Linked DNA regions of Homo sapiens: region 1 is linked to region 2. The links are contacts of gene promoters, found by promoter capture Hi-C in human tissues and cell types (Jung and others, 2019). All regions are on one chromosome and are shown on one strand. Each heading gives the region's core, a stretch centred on a gene start or on the middle of the fragment in contact. The rest is flanking DNA. Distances are from core to core; before and after follow the strand shown. Region 1 overlaps MAST2 (microtubule associated serine/threonine kinase 2). Region 2 holds the start of TOE1 (target of EGR1, exonuclease).

Region 1 (5,509 bases), core at 494-2,993, 520 kb before region 2:
ACAAATCTCATCGAATCAACTGTGCTAACAGGAGAAATTAGTATAAGGCGCTGGAGTTTATGTTATTGACTTTTAAAGCCCAGGTCATACTGGTCAACTGCTAAAGATTCAGTGGGTTCTCCCTACGGGCTCTGAATGTTTACAGCACCATCAATAAGAAGTACATATAATAACTAGAAACAATACAATTTGTTTAAATTTATATTTTAAGTTTACTAATCCTATACATTTTCTACCTGAGAACTTTAAAGAAACTAAAATAATGTTAATTCATGATAATTTTAAAATCCTTAGGTATTTTGTACAAAAAAAGTGCTTTATAAATAATGTCAAATAAACAAAATGAAAACAACAGAAATAGCTACATTTCATGACTAAACCATCACAGGTTGATTGATTAGCTCAGTGATTTACACTAGAATCTTCATTATGTCAATTCTCAAAAACATTTAGTGATAGACTAGAAGCTGGCTTGCTCTTTGCTAACAAGACTAAGATGAGATAATCTACAAAGCATGAAAAAAATAATCATCAAATTTGGCATGTATTCTTTTAGTGCTAAGGATATTCATTAAAACTCAGTTGAAGGTTGCCTATCAGTCTATTTTCATTCACTGTTATATCTTACATACCTCTTCATCTAACAAACTACCTATGATTTAAGAAGGAAAAGATGGTAGGTAGGTAGGTAGGTAGACAGACAGACGGATGGATGGACAGACAACACAGACAGACAATAGATAAGTGGATGGAATGTGTATATGCCAAGTGATAATTTAGAAAAGTTCTTAAAACTATGCATAGAATCAAGCATATACTACCATACATGTGACTTAATGGTGGGCAGATCAGGCATGGTGGTCAGGAACAGAATATGTTCACCGTAAACAATCTGTCAGCAGTAATGTCTAATGTTCTAAATTAGGCTTGTATCCCATACAGGTCTGATTTAGTTGCTCTACTCACTAAATACAGTGTAAATAAGCCCAAGCAGCATTTTTCTATCAAAATAGCAAGATTTTAGATAAGTTCTCTAATTATAACTATACATCAAAGAATAAAGAGGAACTTAGCTGCACTCCACTCTGCCTCCTACCTCAAATGAATTAAATACATTATAACAATCTGTTCAGTACATTTACAAGAGACATTAAAAGGAAGGAGATCAGTGAAAAAGGTTTTCTTTTACTCACCTGTAACCCTCTCCTTCTCAGAATACTGGAATCATCCATAATAGATATCAGACAAAAAAAAGCCACTCCCCAGACAGTCAACTACTAGTGCCTACTTACTGCTGGATAAAGAGGCAAACAATCCTTTCAGCACACCACTAACCCACTGTTCCACTAAACCAGTTATCCCTCTGTCCAGCGTAAGTATACAATCACTGCCTCATATCAGAATCACGTCTTTCTTCACAGAAGTATAGATACATCTCATCTGAAGCACTGCCAAATAGCGGAAAGACTTCATATTTGTTTTCATTTTCCATGCATACCCCTTTGGTTGAAATTATTTGAAGTACTAAGAAAAGAACAAAAGGTTCCGGGGGAAAAATTCCAATCTTTGATATCCTGACTTTGCTGCTTATTAAAAAGGTTTAGCAAACAAAACAAGAGTCTCCACCTACAGCTACTAAGCTTATAAAATCCATGTCACGTTTTCCTTTCCAGAAACAAAACCACTCCACATACGTTTTTAAAAAGATGACAATTCTTCAGAAATACAAAGAAAAACATACGATTCTGATGCCTGTATTTTAGACTCAAAATGATATAAAACCAGTTATTGTTTTGACTAAGTCGGCAAAATTCCTTTCATCCTTTGTACAGACAAAGCAAATGTCAGATTCTTTCGATACTGTCAGGGGCTCTTTTGTTTCTTTATCGCTAGACTCACTGGTCTTCACTTCTTGGACAGTAACGAAAGCCTCTTTCTTCAGGAGCTAGATCATTGCTAAGGTCGGTTTCCCTGCTCTTTTATGTGCAGGAGGGGGCTAGTCCACGTGTTGTGAGTTCTGAGCATGGACAAATTCATTCAGCTGTTTATCACTTACAGTGCTGTCACAGGAAACGCTCCCCATTCCCCCAGACTTCTAAAAGGGCACAGCATGAAAAAGTCTCATTTTATCCAAGCTTTAATGATCTCAAGAATTGTTTCTTTGGTTACTGGCTGCCATTTTTAAAGTAGAACTTCAGCCAAGTTTAAAGATGCTTCTGTTTCTTAATTCATGGCTCAAAATACATAATCTTTTAGATTTTAAGAGTGAAAGATTGTTCTCATGATATGATTCTGTTCCTTACACACTCCATAAGCAACGTTTAAACTTTCCAACTTTATGGTAATTGTCAGAATCTTAGTAAACACAAAGGAAAGTTGCTGATCTTTCTAACAAGTCACACACACAAAATTGTTAGTGAAGGCAGCATTATATTTTTAGGAAGTGAGTTTAACACATTAAATTCAATCATTTTTTCCAAACTATAAGACATGCTACAATAATTACTCTCCTACAAAATTCAGGAGACACGAATCCAAATTCCCTAATTTGACAGATAAAGGTATGTATAAAGCACACAATCAGCCAGTTATACTACCTAAGGTGTAAATATAGCAATAGCTAAAGGCCAGATTCAGTCTGCACCCAAAAAGGAAGAAAAGCAGTCCCTCCTATAATTATGACAGCTGCAACCAACAGTCTAGGGCTTGAAGGAAAGTCTATTTACAAGATCATTTTCTGGTCTTTTTACAACTGATTATAGTCATAAGAAATTGCCACACTGCTGAAAATAGCACAAAAAACAGGATCCATGTCCCTTTCATTCAGCAGAAATCTTCTAATCCTTAGCATAACCAGTGTGGTCTTTCATTGTGAGAGCTAATAAATCCACATTTCCACGGATTCCTTCTCCCATCTGCTGCTTTGAATAACTAACGGCTGGATTATGTCTATGGGGAAAACAAACACAAGACCTGAACAGACAGCTGATTTGCATAGGGTATGCTGTACACTGTATGAGTGTCTGCAAAGTCATAGGCCTTTAAAGTCATAGAACTCCTCTATCAAAATAGGTTTAACTAGCTAAAACATATGTATCAGCAGAGAGGAAGTAGGAGTGGCTTCTAATTTATTCAACCCGGTAATCAGTAAAAATATAAAAAAGATGCATTCTGAGAAGCTATTCAGACAAAAGATTCAAAATTCAAACTCTTTATTCATTTACTAATTCAAGAACCATTTATTTTGCCAACCACTGAGATAGGGATGAGGAAAGATTACCAAAATCAACATTAACCATAAACTAATAATCCTATTCTAGAAGAGCTAAAATCCAATGGGGAAGCCAAATACAAACAAGTAATTATGACACATGAGAAGTGTGCTAAAAGGTATGACAAAGTGCTATGGGAGTGTCAAAGAAGGCTCAATTCATTATAGTGGAAAGCCTACAAAAAGGCTTCAAGTGGAAGTGCCATTTGGTCACTAAAACTAACGTTATGGGATTATCAACCTTTCACCAAGACAGGTTTCCTTTCCCAAAACGTTGTACACAGCTTAAAAATCTTCAACCTGGCCAGGTGCAGTGGCTCACCCAGCACTTTGGGAGGCCGAGGCAAGTGGATCATCTGAGGTCAGGAGTTCGAGACCAGCCTGGCCAACAAGGCAAAACCGTGTTTCTACTAAAAATACAAAAATTAGCCAGGCATGATGGCAGGCAGCTGTAATCCCAACTACTTGGGAGGCTGAGGCAGAAAAATCATTCAAACCCAAGAGGCAGAGGTTGCAGAGCTGAGATCGTGCCACTGCACTCCAGCCACTCAAGGTTAAAAAAAAAAAAAAAAAATCTTCAGTCCTCACTATCTAAAAAATTAAGTAAAAAACGTCTCCCCTTGGCATTCAAGACACGCCATATCATGGAAACAACAGATTTTATCTTCAGTAGTACCTTATTGTAACTTAACCTTCCAATTGGAAAGAACAAGGCACAGTTTCCTGAACATACCCCATCTTTCCCCACCTCAAATCCTTTGTGGATAAACAAGAATACAACCATCTACCTTATAAGGTTGTTGAAAGGAATCATTTATGAAACATGTATGAATGATTCACAACTTTTTTCAGTATCTCTCACAGAGTAGTGTGTAACCTGCTCAAAATTTCCTGCCACAACCTGGTTTCCTTAAAGCCTGTTTGGTTCTCAAAATTTATGCAAATTTTGCATTCTTCTCTGTAAGATAATAAACCTTTATTTGTTTATGTTACAGTAATATTTGTAGTAACTGATTAAACTGTAGGAAACAGAAGAAGAGTAACCAGAGAGGTGGAAGGAAATCAAGACTGCAAATGCTATTAAAGAAGCCAAGAAAAGATAGTCAGGGACTGCTGAACAAATGCTGCCTGGAGGCCCATCATTAAAGAATGTCATCCAATTTAACTGACTTGAAGTCAACTGGTACCCTTTGTAGGAACAATTTCAGGAGTGGAGGAGTGGTAGGAGCAAAAGCCCAACTCCAGTGGGTAGGAGATGAGGAAATAAAGACAGTGAATCTAGACAACTCTTCCAGCTTGCATTTAACTCTCCATACTCTCTGCAGCCAAAGTTCTCAAAAAAAAAGTTATTCTTGAAAAGGAAGGGAGGGGATTGAGAGCATAAACAGTGATAGAAGGAATATTTCTTCCACCACAAAAGATGAAAAGGAAGGAAGGGGATTGAGAGCATAAACAGTGATAGAAGGAATATTTCTTCCACCACAACAGATGAAAAGGAAAAAGCAGGTACAGGTAACAAAATATTTGTAACTTTAGTGGTAAAGAAGCTAAAGAAGCTTCCACATTATAGCTATTTTCTCCATGAAATAAAAAGGAAATCAGCAGAGCAAGGAAATTCCAAATTTGAGATGAGTAAAAAAAAAAAAAAATTGAGAGATAATACAGAGAACAAGAAAATACGCTGAACAAAAAGTAGAATTGGTAAGCAGCGTTAAGGACTGACCTACATCATTCATCATCATTTTACAGTCCCACCAATCTGCTCCGTTGTGTGGCTTTCTTCAGTAGACTACAGTAATGCAAAGGCAAAGTTTTACTAAACAGCTTTACCAGATAAATTGACCAAAAATGGGGCAAACAATTTATGACATGGAATAGAGAGAGTAACAATGGAATCTAAGCTAAAAGAGGAGGAAAGTAAAGACGAAAAGACAGGAAGAAAAGATTTAATAGAGGTGCTGGTAAGTCTGAGAACTGGTATACTTTAAGAATAATTAAATGGGGAAGCTAAAAAAATTATCAGGTTGTAGTGAGGAGGTTACCTAGAGTTACGATTTTAGTGAAGGAACATTTCAGAGGTATGACAAGGCAGAGAGCTAAGTGGACTAGAAATGATAATGAGGTCAACAACTATGCCAGGATATTATTGGATGGATTCATCTACATGGTTGCTGAAAATAACAAAGATAATAGCAGGAGTTGAGAGGAGTAGTAAGATTTTTTTTTTTGGAGACGGAG
Region 2 (5,810 bases), core at 1,212-3,711:
CATATTCTAAGTAGGAGGCCACGAAACGGGCATGAAACTCAGCAGCATATTTGGTGTCATAAATGCCTGCTGGGAACATCTCACACAGGTCAGCGGTGAAGGTTCCCAGACTCTCAGGGAGGTGTGCATAGAAGTTCTGGTACAGGAACACCAAGTCTATAAGGCCATTGTGTAGCACCAGGGGCCGGCGGGCTCGGATTAGCTCCAGGAATAGGGTCCGTACTGACTGGCTCTGGCTCTCATCACCCTAGATGAAAGTAAAGGGGTCAATGAGGAGGACAGAGTCCCCCAGGGAGCCTCTTCTGCTGGGCACTTATCCCAGACTTCCCCACTTGGAACGCTCTCTCTCTACCTTACCCAATGCTGCCCACCCTCCTCATACCAGTCTTGTTTCCCAAGCCCTGTCACTAGTGATTCCCCATACTCCCTAAGAAGCAGATTCTCCCCAGACATCCAGCCTAGGGTAGGAAGAAATAAAGTCACAGAAAGGGCAGACTCAAGGCTAGGGAGGCTAGAGGCCTACCTTGTCATTGCCCTTATGGTAGGGGATGCCTTGGGCATACTGCTGGTTGAAGTTGAAGCCATGCTGTATCAGGAACTGCACAGACTTTGGTTCTATGACATACTCCTCCATGCACAGCAGAGTGAGATTGAACACTTGAGCCAGATAGGAATGTTCACCCTGGGAGAAAGAGAAGTCTGCTATATCAAGATTTCAGAGAGCCAAGCTAGGAGGATGCAAAAGCTTAAGAATGATACAATGGACTCTGGGGACTCAGGGGGGAAAGGATGGAGGCAGGTGAGGGATAAAAGACTACGCATTGGGCACAGTGTACACTGGGTGATAGGTGCACCAAAATCTCAGAAATTGCCACTAAAGAACTTACTCATTTAACCAAACACCACCTGTTCCCCATAAACCTATTCAAATAAAAAAAAAAAAACTATCAAGTCAAAAAAAAAGATTTGGGAGAGAAATGCTTCCTATCTGATGTTCCCTAGAATCTCTCTACCCTCCACCCCACAGCCACACCTAGGATTGGGGTGAGATCAGCTCATACCTTGTCTGGCTGCCGCTTGAAGCAGGCGAGGCCCAGGGAAAGGATAGAACGGGTCCTGGCAGCATGACACACGGCCTTGTAACGTTCCTCAATGCACCTTGGGGTTGGGTATGGGGGTTGCTGTGGCTAGGAGTTAGCCTTATGAAGGACCCAAACCACCCAGGTCTGTGACCCCCCCACTCCACAGTTGAGGGCTGGCACTAAAGAGAAAAGGGCTTATACTTACTGGTTCAGCAAACTCTTCCTGTCCCCAAGCCCACTCAGCTCCTGTGGGTAGGTAAAGGGAGAGTTGTGACAGGCCTCTAGCACCAGCCCCTTCACAACCACCTGCCCTCCTTGTTTCCCAACTCTCACCGTGTCCACAGCCACGAAATTAGCTGTCTTTATGGCTAGCAGGAGGGATGGCCACATCTCCTTGAAGTTGTTGCTTTGCACATCCACTACGGGAACCTGGACTACTAGCTCCTCCCCAGATGTTGTGCTTTTGCTGACACCACCTGGGGGTTAGGAGGGTGATGGATGTTCATGCTTAAGGAAAGAGCCCAGGGGAACAGACACCAAGCTAGGCCACGGTGATGGTGGTAAGGGGGGTAGTTTCCATTGGTAGCTTTTCCCACAAGCCTTTGTAACCCACGTGTTCTACACACAGGCCTTGGAGTGGAGAATGCCCTGAATTTGGGGAGAGGAAGCCTGAGTCTTCTACTGGCTTGTATGAGCCTGGGTAAATTACTTCCCACCTCGCTTTCACAATCTGTAGAGGAGAAAGTTGGACTAGACGACCTTTGATTCTTTTTTCCCATGTCCTGCAGGAAACATTTTGTAGGGCTTGAGGATCTCAGCTCCCTTAATATCCCACAGGGATCCATACTACTGTTCTCATGGTGCCCCAGCGCCACAAGCAACAGCTCCCAGTAAGCCCCAGAGCCTGGCAGTGCCCCACACCAGAGCTCCCAATACGTCCTACCTTCCTTTGGATCACAACGCTCAATCCACTCCACTGAACTGAATCACAACTATTACTACTAACCGTTATGAGCTCCAGACTACATCTCCCGCCATGCCTCCATCAGCCCCATGCTCCCAACGCTCCAGGCTTTTGCAGCCGGAGCCGCGGTGTACAACGGAACTTGTAGTCTCCTCGTGGCTAGTTCAGGCGGAAGGAGCAGTCCTCTGAAGCTTGAGGAGCCTCTAGAACTATGAGCCCGAGGCCTTCCCCTCTCCCAGAGCGCAGAGGCTTTGAAGGCTACCTCTGGGAAGCCGCTCACCGTCGGAAGCTGCGGGAGCTGAAACTGCGCCATCGTCACTGTCGGCGGCCATGACACCGCTCGTCTCCCGCCTGAGTCGTCTGTGGGTACGCTGGACTTGCGGTCCGTCTCCTGGCGCGGTTCAGGCAGTCGGGGATGGGGCGGGGTCTCGCCGTCGGGTCGCCGATGGGTCGAACTTCCGTTCAGACGTCCCGGGTCCGGCGCGGGGAAGGCAGCCTGGCGCGCGCTAATTGCCTATTGGCCTGTGCTGCCGGCTCGCAGCCCGGGTGGACCCGAGCCACGCCCCCTGGAGTGCGCCGGAAAGCCGGGCGCGCTAGAGCTCGCGGGAGGTAATCTTTCTCTCCTGCTCTCGCGGCGGGAACGCGGGGCCTCCGTGTTCTGCTGTCTTCATCAGCGTGGGCCGCGGGTAGCGGGTAGTGGGGTGGCTGGGTTTGGGCTTTCCAGAGAAGGTGACGCTGCCTGAGCTGAGCTTAAAGCACGCCCAGGAGTTAGACTAGGAGAGGGTCGTGTGGGGGAAAGAAGGGCGTTCTGGGCATCGGTAAATTCCCAGAGAGGATGGAGAGCTCAGTGATCTCCAGAAAGTGAAAGAGGCGGGGAGTGGGCCATCGGAGGAGGCTGCCCAGGGTGTAAGAGCGACCGATTGGTAGGGAAGCTTTTGTAATAATCCAATCAAGTGATAATGTGAACTTGAATTAAGGCTGGCAGTATGGATGGCGAGGAAGGGACAAATTGTGAAGCAGCTAGGCGGTATAGTCGACCTAGAGGGTGATTGAATTTGAAAGAGGTTCCTAGGCCGGGCGCGGTGGCTCACGCCTGTAATCCCAGCACTTTGGGAGGCCGAGGCGGGCGGATTACCTGAGGTCCGGAGTTCAAAACCAGCCTGGCCAACATGGTGAAACCCCGTCTCTACTAAAAGTACAAAAAAAATTAGCTGGGTATGGTGCGGGCGCCTGTAATCCCACTACTTGGGAGGCTGAGGCAGGAGAATCGCTTGAACCTGGGAGGCAGAGGTTGCGGTGAGCCGAGATCACGCCATTTTGCACTTCAGCCTAGGCAACAAGAGCGAAACTCCGTCTCAAAAAAAAAAAAAAAAAAAAAATTCCTATTGGAGACTAGTCCCTCCGTAAACACTACGATTCCCATCCACCTCTGCCTTCCAGTGCTCCTTTGTTACTCATTGTTTATAGTTAATCTTCAGCTTCTCTCAACTGAGCCCATTTCATCATTATTCAGAACTGCTTGGGCCGGGCGCAGTGGCTTATGGCCTGTAATCATCTTAGGAGGCCAAGGTGGGAGGATCGCTTGACCCTAGGAGTTCAAGACTAGCCTGGGCAACATAGTGAAACCTTGTCTCTACAAAAAGAAAATTAAAAATTAGTTGGGCATGGTGGTGCGCACCTGTAGTCCCAGCTACAGGAGGCTGAGGTGAGAGGATGGCTTGAGCCCAGGAGGTCGAGGCTGCAGTGAGCCATGTTCTTATTGCACTCCAGCCTGAGTGGCAGAGCAGCAAAGTGAGGGACACACTGTCTCTAAAAACAAAACAAACAAACAAAAAAAAAACAAAAATAAAAAAACTCTTTGGATTTCTCCTATCCTAAAAAAGGGAAACTCTTTTGACTATCCCCCATCCCATTAATTCATTTAACAGGTATCTATTGTGTACAGTTTACCTGGCACTGACTTTGGACACACACCAATCAACAAGAGAATCAGTCCTTGCACTCAAGTCGTTTTTTACAGTCAAATTCAGGAAGTACACACTGATGGAAAGAATCAAAGTAATGTAAAATTACATTAGGTAAGAGCTACAAGGCAGAAATATGTGATAGGATAAGATGAGGGGACCTGATTTGGACATTTCAGTCAAGACTTGAAAAATGATAAGGTGTTAGGTAAAAGCATAAAAGAGTCCAAACAGAGGAAATGGATTGTGTGAGGCCCCAAGGTGGGCAGACACACTTGAGGTGTTTAAGCAACTAAATTCAGTCAACCTTGGCTAGAGCATAGTGAGGGGATGAGGCGGATGGTGCCCGGATCACTGGACCTGCAAGGCTGTAGTAAGAGGACTGCCTTCTAAGAGCAAGGGTGTGGCAGCCAAATCCCTCCAATGGCCTATAAGGTACTTTGTGACCCTCCTCTCCCCACCTCATCTGGTTTACTTCTCTGACCTCTTCTACCACTCAGTCCCATCTCATTCCATTCTAACCACATTGACCTACTTACTGTACCACAGACATACCAGGCACCCTCCTTGGGGCCTTTGCACTCACTTAGAATGCTTTGGGTCTACCTTGACCACAGTCTTTAAAATTGCAACATTAAACCCCACCTTGGCACTCTTTTTTTTCCCCTCTTGGTCTAATTTTTGCTTTTTATGCTAATATTTATCACCTAACATCTTATGGAATTTACTTATGTTCATTATTCCTTTTCTGTCCCCATTAGAATATAAGCTCCCTGAGGGCAGGAACTTTTGATGTTTTATTTACTGAAGTATGCCAAGTGCCTAAAACTGCTTGGCACATATTAGGGGGCTCTATAAATATTTGCTCAATCTTTTTTTTTCTTTAAGAGACAAGGTCTTGCTGAGCCCAGGGTGGAGTGCAGTGGCACAATCATAGCTCACTGCAGCCTCGACCTTCTGGGCTCAAGCTGTTCTTCACTTCAGCCTCCAGAGTAGCAGGATTACAGTGTTGAGCCACCACAACCAGCTTGCTCAAGAATTTAATGACCCATAGTAAAGGCCTACAGTATTTAAAAAAGAAAGAAAAAGGAAAAAAGGAAGGAAGGAAAGAGGGAGGGAGAAAAAAAGAGAAAAGAAAGAAAATAAAAGAATATAATGGGGTGTCACCAGGCGCCGTGGCTCATGCCTGTATCCCAGCACTTTGGGAGGCCGAGGCGGGTTGATTGCTTGAGCTCTGGAGGTGGAGACTAGCCTGGGCAACATGGTGAAACCCTGTCTCTAACAAAAATACAAAAATTAGCTGGATGTGGTGGTGGTGTGCGCCTGTGGTCCCAGCTGCTTGGAGTTGGGGTGGGGTATTGGGGTGGGAGGATTGCTTGAGCCGAGGAAGCAGAGGTTGCAGTGAGCCAAGATCACACCACTGCACTCCAGCCTGGGTGACAGAGTGAGACCCCATCCCAAAAAAAAAAAAAAGAATGGGAAACCATTGAAGGTTATAAGGAAGGAAGTGACGTGATCTGGAAAAGATTCCTTTGCTCTTTGGAGAATAGATTGTAGAATGAATGTGGAAGTAAGCAGGTTTGGTGAAGGAAGTTTGGCTATGAAGGGAAGGAGGGTGGGATTTGATTGTGTTACGAGCCAAGGGGAAAATCTTTCCCTTTGCCCTCTGAAGATCTGCTGAAAAATCAGCTCACAAAAGGCAGGTTAACTGGAGAAAAGGCATACAAATTTATTAACATGCACATTGGGAGAACCATAAAGTGATTACCCATCTCCCTACAGAGTTCGTGAGTTTATATA

What was found. The method cuts DNA at HindIII sites, captures the fragments that hold promoters and counts their contacts. A contact is called where the count stands out against the background at its distance.
Region 1: a fragment that was not itself captured here is called in contact with the fragment with the promoter of TOE1 in region 2 in 1 of the 25 tissues and cell types used here (hippocampus).

Annotation. Positions count from the first base shown.
Region 1 is chr1:45,860,824-45,866,332 of GRCh38, reverse strand. The region is part of intron 3 of MAST2 (microtubule associated serine/threonine kinase 2); the gene reads right to left. Among named protein-coding and RNA genes, the nearest start is that of MAST2, 60 kb to the right of the region's middle. The HindIII fragment of the contact is 3,476 bases long and covers 6-3,481 here.
Region 2 is chr1:45,336,821-45,342,630 of GRCh38, reverse strand. TOE1 (target of EGR1, exonuclease) reads right to left here and starts at 2,461. Exons shown (of 8, transcript NM_025077.4): 1 at 2,327-2,461; 2 at 1,416-1,558; 3 at 1,288-1,328; 4 at 1,062-1,158; 5 at 524-682; 6 at 1-247. The coding sequence starts at 2,378. It overlaps MUTYH (mutY DNA glycosylase), which reads left to right and starts at 2,661. Exons shown (of 16, transcript NM_001048174.2): 1 at 2,661-2,732. RefSeq lists enhancers at 1,136-1,802, 2,101-2,450, 1,803-2,471, 2,472-3,139. The HindIII fragment of the contact is 1,117 bases long and covers 1,492-2,608 here.